Regions from separate parts of the Homo sapiens genome. Here regions 1 and 2 are each linked to region 3. The links are contacts of gene promoters, found by promoter capture Hi-C in blood cells and fetal thymus (Javierre and others, 2016). All regions are on one chromosome and are shown on one strand. The core of a region is centred on a gene start or on the middle of the fragment in contact, and the rest is flanking DNA. Distances in the headings are between cores, read along the strand shown.

What was found. Contacts are between HindIII fragments. The CHiCAGO score rates a contact against its expected background, and 5 or more counts as called.
Region 1: a contact is called between a fragment that was not itself captured here and the fragment with the promoter of ESCO1 in region 3, in 1 of 17 cell types (activated CD4 T cells). The highest score is 6.5, in activated CD4 T cells.
Region 2: a contact is called between a fragment that was not itself captured here and the fragment with the promoter of ESCO1 in region 3, in 1 of 17 cell types (neutrophils). The highest score is 5.0, in neutrophils.

Annotation. Positions count from the first base shown.
Region 1 is chr18:21,804,068-21,806,767 of GRCh38, reverse strand. All of the region lies in intron 10 of MIB1 (MIB E3 ubiquitin protein ligase 1), which reads right to left. Among named protein-coding and RNA genes, the nearest start is that of MIR133A1, 20 kb to the left of the region's middle. The HindIII fragment of the contact is 5,677 bases long and covers 1-2,700 here.
Region 2 is chr18:21,769,394-21,772,093 of GRCh38, reverse strand. The region is part of intron 3 of MIB1 (MIB E3 ubiquitin protein ligase 1); the gene reads right to left. Among named protein-coding and RNA genes, the nearest start is that of MIB1, 30 kb to the right of the region's middle. The HindIII fragment of the contact is 4,780 bases long and covers 1-2,700 here.
Region 3 is chr18:21,599,453-21,602,152 of GRCh38, reverse strand. It overlaps ESCO1 (establishment of sister chromatid cohesion N-acetyltransferase 1), which reads left to right and starts at 1,449. Exons shown (of 12, transcript NM_052911.3): 1 at 1,449-1,530. RefSeq lists an enhancer at 1,224-1,743. The HindIII fragment of the contact is 1,991 bases long and covers 474-2,464 here.

The DNA.
Region 1 (2,700 bases), core at 200-2,699, 200 kb before region 3:
CCTGTAGTCCCAGCTACTCGGGAGGCTGAGGCGGGAGAATGGCGTGAACCCGGGAGGCAGAGCTTGCAGTGAGCCAAGATCGCGCTACTACTACACTCCAGCCTGGGCGACAGAGCAAGACTCCGTCTCAAAAAAAAAAAAACAAAAAACAAAAAACTATTTATAAATATCTAGACTACCAAGACTCACTTCAACTCCCATCATACCATGTTTATAGTATTAACTAACTGTTTGTTTTGTATTTGAGTACAATTAAGAAAAAAAGAGGCTGGGCGCAATGGCTCACACTTGTAATTCCAACACTTTGGGAAGCCAAGGCAGGAGGATCACTTGAGTCCAGGAGTTTGAGACCAAACTGGGCAACATAGTGAGACCATCTCTTTATAAAAATTTTTAAAAATTAGCCAAGCATGATGGCACACACCTGTAGTCCTAGCTACCTGGGAGGCTGAAGTGGGAGAATTGTTTGAGCCTGGGAATTCAAGGCTGCAGTGAGCCATAATCATGCCACTGCACTCCAGTCAGGGCAGAGCAAGACCCTGTATCAAAAAAAAAAAAAAAATCTGGCCAGGCATGGGGCTCATGCCAGTAATCCCAGCATTTCAGGAGGCTGAGGTAAGCGAAATCACTCGAGGTCAGGAGTTAGAGATCAGCCTGGCCAACATGGCGAAACCCCAACTCTACTAAAAATACAAAAATTAGCCCAGCGTAATGGTGCACATCTGTAATCTCAGCTACTCGGGAGGCTGAGGCACAACAATCACTTGAACCGGGAGGCGGAGGTTGCAGTGAGCCAAGAACACTCAACTGCATTCCAGCCTGGGCAACAGGGGGAGACTCTGTCTCAAAAAAAAAAAAAAAAAAAAAGGAAAGAAAGAAAATTACTCTTGAAAAACAGTGCCAATTTCATTCCTAATTCCACAGCCGCAAACCCATTCTGCAAAACCTCTCATGTGAACAAAAATCTCTAGAAACGCAAATATATGAATAATCCCATGCTGCCAGGTTGGTGATTAAATTCTGAATCTGAAAGCAACTTTAAAAAGAAACTTAGGCAAAAAGAAATGTGGTTTTTCAGCTTCTTGCCTTATTAGCTGTAATCAGAAGGACTTTGGTTTTTCAGTAGTTGTTGCTATTGGAGTTTCTGGATTCACTAAATTAAAAATCAGATATTCAACTCAAGAAATTTCATACCATTCCACCAAATAAAACTAAAATAATAAGAAAATAAAGTAATTATATTCTATATACAAAACACTAAAATTAACTTTAATTACCAAAACAAAACTTGTAACACACACTAGGTTCCTAAACTTACAATCAAGAAAGATGCAACTTAAAAATTACTAGTGCAAAAGTAACATCAAATTATATAATCTCATTCATAAAGACATCATAGTAATAAAACTATTGTATAGTTCATAGATATCTAATATGCTAATTTAAAATTCAAGTTCTTAGGCGCGGTGGCTCACACCTGTAATCTCAGCACTTTGGGAGGCTGAGGCAGGCACATCACTTGAGGTCAGGAGCTCGAGACCACCCCGGCCAACATGGCAAAACCCTGTGTCTACTAAAAATACAAAAATTACCCAGGTGTGGTAGCAGGCGCCTATAATCGCAGCTACTGGGGAGGCTGAGGCATGAGAATCACTTGATCCCAGGAGGCAGAGGTTGCAGTGAGCTGAGAACACGCCATTGCACTTCAGCCTGGGCAACAGAGTGAGACTCTGCCTCAAAAATTAATTAATTAATTAATTAATTTCAAGTTATTTCTAGGCAGCAGAAAATTCCAACATTATAGATGACCTGTTTACCCTTAAAAACCACAGGCTCTTTAGTAGCTGTCCAACAATTCAAAATACATACAATTAGAGAAAAAAGAAAAAGTAACATAAGACTAGAAAAGGCTTCTCTTTTCCAATATGCATCTTTTTAAATTTTTTAATTAGTAAAATCAGGTTGATCCACCAATTTAGCCCTCAGCAATTCAAGTCCTCATTAAGCACTCACAGATGAGAGTGTTTTTTAGACAAAATTGCAACATTCTGCCTAATTTAAATTTGCTAGAATTTGATTTATTCTAAATAATCTTGCACTATACTAAAATAAGTGTGATTCAAATACATTTTTAGTAATGAGTAGTTAAGTAAGACAAAGCAAGACATCCTTCACAATAGAGATACAGAGAGATCCCCAGTCAAGACTCCAATGATATTAAGAAGTGTTTCTCTTTTATAAGAATATATTCTAAATTAAATGAAGCATATATACACACATATGGTGATAAACATGCATTATGAACTCTTCAAATATTCACATTAAGGTCAAGAAACAATAAAACTTAAAAAATGCTAATTCAGTTATGACAAAACAACAACAAAAAAAGTTTCCAACTGTCACAGAGATCAGGAAAGATTCTGACCCAGTGGATTTATATTCCTCGTCCTTCAATTTCCCTAGTATGATTCTTGATTCTTGGACAAGCCCACCTTTAGCTCCTAAAACATGATGGTTACACCACAGTAATATGAAACTCAACTCCTATCTTTACCTAGGACTATGGCTAAAATATAAAGGATCACAGAAAGACAAGAACTGTTTCAAGTTGCCTCTGTCAGATTTTTATTTTCAATCAGAAAAGCCTTAGTTGGATACTAAATTTCAAAAATAAAAACAATCCATCTCATGATATAGAAG
Region 2 (2,700 bases), core at 57-2,556, 170 kb before region 3:
CACTTGAAACATATTTTAAATTGTTAGTAATTTAGTCCATTTACTCTTTTAAATTTTGAAATACATTACACATTATAAAATACAGCATATGTAAATTTTTTTTTTTGCTCTTGTCACCCAGGCTGGAGTGCAATGGCACGATCTCGGCTCACTGCAACCTCCGCCTCCCCGGTTCAAGTGGTTCTCCTGCCTCAGCCTCCCAAGTAGCTGGGATTACAGGTGCCCACCACCATGCCCGGCTAATTTTCGTTTTTTTTTTTAAGTAGAGATGGGGTTTCGCCATGTTGGCCAGGCTGGTCTCAAACTCCTGATCTTGTGATCTGCCTACCTCAGCCTCCCAAAGCATATGTAAACTTTAAGGAATAAAAAAATAAACTGAACACCCATGTAATTATTACCCAACCTAAGAAAAAAAATAGAACCAGTACTTTTCAAGTCCCCTATGTCCATCTCATCAATCCCATCCTCCTGCCTTCCATTAGAGGTAACTACCATCCTGAAGTTAAGAGTCCACCATTTACCTTAATTTGCTTTATGATTCCTGCTCAACTAACCACTACATAACCTTCTAAAGTAACAGTTTCTAGCACTCGAAGGTAAAACATGCAATCTGTAGCAAAAAGTTCCTTCTGATTCTAATATATTCAGATTCAACTTCATTTGTTTTAAAAAATGTGATGCTATATTAAGTCTGTATTTTATAGGATGAGTAAAAAAGCATTTGGCTAGCTAAAAAACAAAGACAAATTTTAAATCAAATTTACTTTAAATTTCAAATTACTTGAAATAGAAGTAAGTTCATTAGTCAAGCTCCAAATCATTAAATGAAATTCCTTCATTTGTTAATATGACTTGATTTATTATTGAGGAGGAAACAAAGTGGAGGGCATAAGAAAATAACTACAGTAATTTCACATGTAAGGAACAGCTGTTAAAACCATTAGGTATAATGTTGCCAAGAAACTCTGTAAAGGATACATCTGACAAAATTTGCACCTGTTCATCAATCTTAACATCACTAATAGCAGAATAATCAGACTTTATGTGCCCCTTTATATGATACAATAGAAAATACACAGCATCACATATGAGGTATGTTTGCCAAAATAAAATTGAACCTGAATCTATCTAATCAAGCCTCTAGATCTAACAACTAATTTATAGGAAATACAAAGATTAAAAGAACAAGTTAAAGAAGTTAAAGAATACTATAAAGAATCAATTGGCCAAATAGAATCTGGTTTCTTCAACAAATAAATGGTATTTTTTTAAGTTAATAATTGTTGAAGTTGGGTATGAGTGCATGGGAATTTATTATACTATACTTTCTACTCAAGTGTATGTCTGAAATACTCCATAATAAAGAGCTTAACAAAAAAACAAATATGATCTAGTATACTTAATCATATTTGTAAAACAAACAGCTTTAAAAGACTAACACGTATAGTGAGACTTAAAAAGCCCTTTAAGAATAGGCTGGGCGCGGTGGCTCATGCCTGTAATCCCAGCACTTTGGGAGGTGGAGGCAGGAGGATCGCTTGAACCCAGGAGTTCGAGACCAGCCTGGGCAACACAGCAAGACTCCATCTCTAATATATATTAGAAAAACAAAAAGGAAGAATACACTACATACAATTAACGTGGGTTACATCAGGGGAGTGGGATAAAGCATCCAGCACTGAAGGGGAAAAAGGGATGTTAACTTTCTTCATTCACATACATAGGCCAAAACAAAAAAGTCAGACAACAGAAGTTACACTTGGTCTTAAACAATGTGCTTAACAATGTTACTCTAAAGATTTATTTTATAAAGTTCCCTCACTTGGAGTCACATGTACAAGATGGTTTCATTTCTTTTTCTTCATTTTGTTCTTTTCGTTTGTCTGTTTTGAGATGGAGTCTCACTCTGTCACCCAGGGTGGAGTGCAGTGGCACAATCTTGGCTCACTGCTACCTCTGCCTCCCAGGTTCAAGTGATTCTCCTGCCTCAGCCTCCCTGGTAGCTGGGACTATAGGCATGTACCACCATGCCTGGCTAATTTTTGTATTTTTAGTGGAGACAGGGTCTCACCATGTTGGCCAGGTTAGTCTCAAACTCCTGACCTCAAATGATCCACCCGCCTCAGCCTCCCAAAGTGCTGGGATTACAGGCGTGAGCCACCATGCCTGGCCCTCATTTTGTTCTTAAAACACAACATGTGTTAAATCAAAGCAAACCAAAAATGTAACAGAATGACTCAAAGCCTCAAGAATGCCTTCTTTTATCCCAAAAAAGTGCCAATACAGAAAAAACCAGGAAGTTCCATTTATGTGGCTTCAAACAGCAAATGCCTTCAAAAGCTGATGAGGAAAGATGACTTCCAGCCCCCTCTGACCATATAATTAACTATGAGGAAAAATACACAGTCAATTAAAATTTGACTTCTCACATACTCTTTCAAAAGAAGTTACTAGAATGTGTGTCCTACCAAAAGAGACAGTAAGCTAAGTAAGATATCTAATGGGATACAGAAAACATGAGATCCAGCCAGGAAAAGAGGCAAAGGCATCTTTGTTAATCACAGGGCTTCAAAGGGCGCTTCCAGGATGACTGCTGGGCACCAGGCATGGAAGGTGACCCATCCAGATTGCAGCCGTGTAATATGTGGTGGCCAAACAAGTTGAAAGCTCTTATCCCTACTTCCACTGTACCGTTTTTAT
Region 3 (2,700 bases), core at 200-2,699:
CACAAGGTCAGAAGTTCGAGACCAGCCTGGCCAAGATGGTGAAACCCCGTCTCTACTAAAAATAAAAAATTAGCCGGGCATGGTGGCAGGCACCTGTAGTCCCAGCTACTCAGGAGGCTGAGGCAGGAGAATTCCTTGAACCTGGGAGGCGGAGGTTGCAGTGAGCCGAGATCGTGCCATTGCACTCTAGCCTGGGTGACAAGAGTGAGACTCCATCTCAAAAAAAAAAAAAAAAATTAGCCTGGCATGGTGTCGTGGGCTTCATACATGCAGTTCTCAGGGAGGCTGAGGCAGGTGGGATCGCTTGAGCCCAAGTCGAGGCTGCAGTGAGCCGTTACTGTGCCACTGCACACCAGCCAGGGCTACACAGCAAGATCCTTCCTGTCACAAAAGAAAGAAGTGTGGGAACCATGAATCCTAGTGATAGAATCTTGGATTCTATCTCTAGAGGCGTCCAAGAGCGAGCCAAAGCTTTGTCTGAACACTCAGTCTGACTAAGTCTAGCAGAATATTTTACAATTTCTGATGATTCTTGCACTCTGATACACAGGAAGAAAGTGTGCAAGGAGAGGGCGAAGCCCTGCATTTTTTGGAGGTGCTGGAGGGCAGTGTAGGGACTGCACCCTCCTTTTTTTTTTATTTGAGACAGGGTCTCACTCGTCCAGACTAGAGTGCAGTGGCCCAGTCTCAGCTCACCACAACCTCCGCCTCCCAGGCTCAAGGGATTCTCCCGCCTCAGCCTCTCGAGTAGCTGGGATTACAGTCGCACGCCACTACCACCCGGCTAATTTTTGTATTTCTAGTAGAGACGGGGTTTCACCATGTTGGCCATGTTGGCCAGGCTGGTCTCGAACTCCTAACCTCAAATGATCCACCCGCCTCTGCTTCCCAAAGTGCTGGGATTACAGGCGTGAACCACCGCGCCCGGCCCCACCCTCCTTCTTTACATTGGCTCATATGGAAGACCAAAGGCACTTGGATTATACATCGCAGACAGAAGCAGCCAAAACCTACATGGCAACCAGTTGCGACAAATTTCCAAGGTAAACCACAACCGCTGGGGGCCTGGGTGGTTTTCAGCTCAAAGCGATGACCCCAGGAACGACAAGCGGCCGCCGCTAGGGGGCGCCGCCACTTCCCTGCCAGGCGACCACCCGCGGAGGCGCGCGCGCTAGGCCTCCCACCGCGCCTGCGCTGAGGATGGACACTAGCTCGCCTTTCCTCGACGCCCAGCCGTCCGGGCCGGGGTGAAAAACTGCGTGACACGCAGTGAGCGTGGCGGCCATCTTCGTCTTCTGGGCACGTCAGCTGAGCCGGTTAGGGCTGAAGAGGAGCGTTGCGCAAGCGCACCCAAGACGGTCACAGGTAACTCCCATCTGACGAGCGAGGCGTCGCCGTCGTCGCCGGAAGTTTGGTGTTTGCGCCGCGGGGGAGGCGGCGGCCGCAGCAGAAGCAGCTGAGTGTCTCCTGATACCCGGATGTGAGGCGATCCGCTGGCGCTAGTCTGACCCTCCGCCAGGCAAAAGGAAGGTACGCGAGCGTCCCTGACGGTCCCCGCCGCCTGTGTCTTCACCTCTCTTTTGCCAGCCCCTTCAGGGAGCGGACAGTTCTCCCTCTTCCTGTTCCACCCTCGGTGGCGTGTTGCCTCGCACGCCCCTTCCTACTGCTCCGGTCCCAGCTCTTCGCGCCCCTGGGAGGGAGGTGGGAGGCTCTAGGCTCCAAGACGCCGTCGCTTGAGGTAGGCAGCTAACGTGCTCGCGTGTCCGCGCACCACCTGCCGCTGTTTGCTGGGCGGTCGAAGTTCATAAGGGGTCGTGACCGCCGACGGGGCAGGGCCGGAGTTCCCAGCACTGCCGCGAGGGCTCCGGGAGCCCCGAGGTGGCGCGCAGCCATTGCTAGCACCGGGGCAGCGCCAGTGCTGGTCCCGCAGGTAGCTCCGGGCCCCGTCTCCGCCCCCTGCGTTTTCTCTTCCCGGCGCTTCACCGGAGCCAGTCCCTCGCCGCCTCCTGGCGCAACCCGCTGACCCGGCCTGAGCCTGGAGGCCTCTGCAGTTTGCGGGGCGCGATGTGGGGTCTTGGTTTTACAGCCTTCAGTTTGGGAGGGGAGCGGGCCCAAGGTCATAGAGTAACTCATGCTGCAAATGGGGGTCTCGGCACAGGTAGGGCGGCTCTGGAGTAGAAATGAGTGCATTGAGGGCCGCAGTGAAGTTTATAGCGATGGAGAGAGGCGAACCAAAGAGAATTGGGTCCTCGATTTTTATCACGGGTTAAGATTATTTTACTATGGGGGTTTATTTTGCACAGGCAGAATGGGATAGCAAGTCCAACAATTCGAAGACTACCTCCTCTCCCTCCGCCTCTCAATGATGCGTCCGAAAATCCGGCGTGTGCTTTATTTTCCGGGGCGATGGGGACGCAGCGGGGACCAGGGGAGGGAGGAAGAGGAGGAGGAAGGAGCTCAAGCTTTGCGATTTGAGAAGTACTATGAACCATGTTTTCTGTAGTCTTAGCTGCAATGAGATTCCTTTAAACAGGAATCGCAGCACACAGTATCTAGATAGTATTACAAAACGATATCTCAATAAATAAGCTTCGCAGGAAACAAAAGCGCTACTTGGTGGCATAAGGTGTGGTTAGTCCCCCCACCAGCATTGGCTTTTTTAAAAAAGTGGATAAAACATAGATTTCAGTTGAAAACATC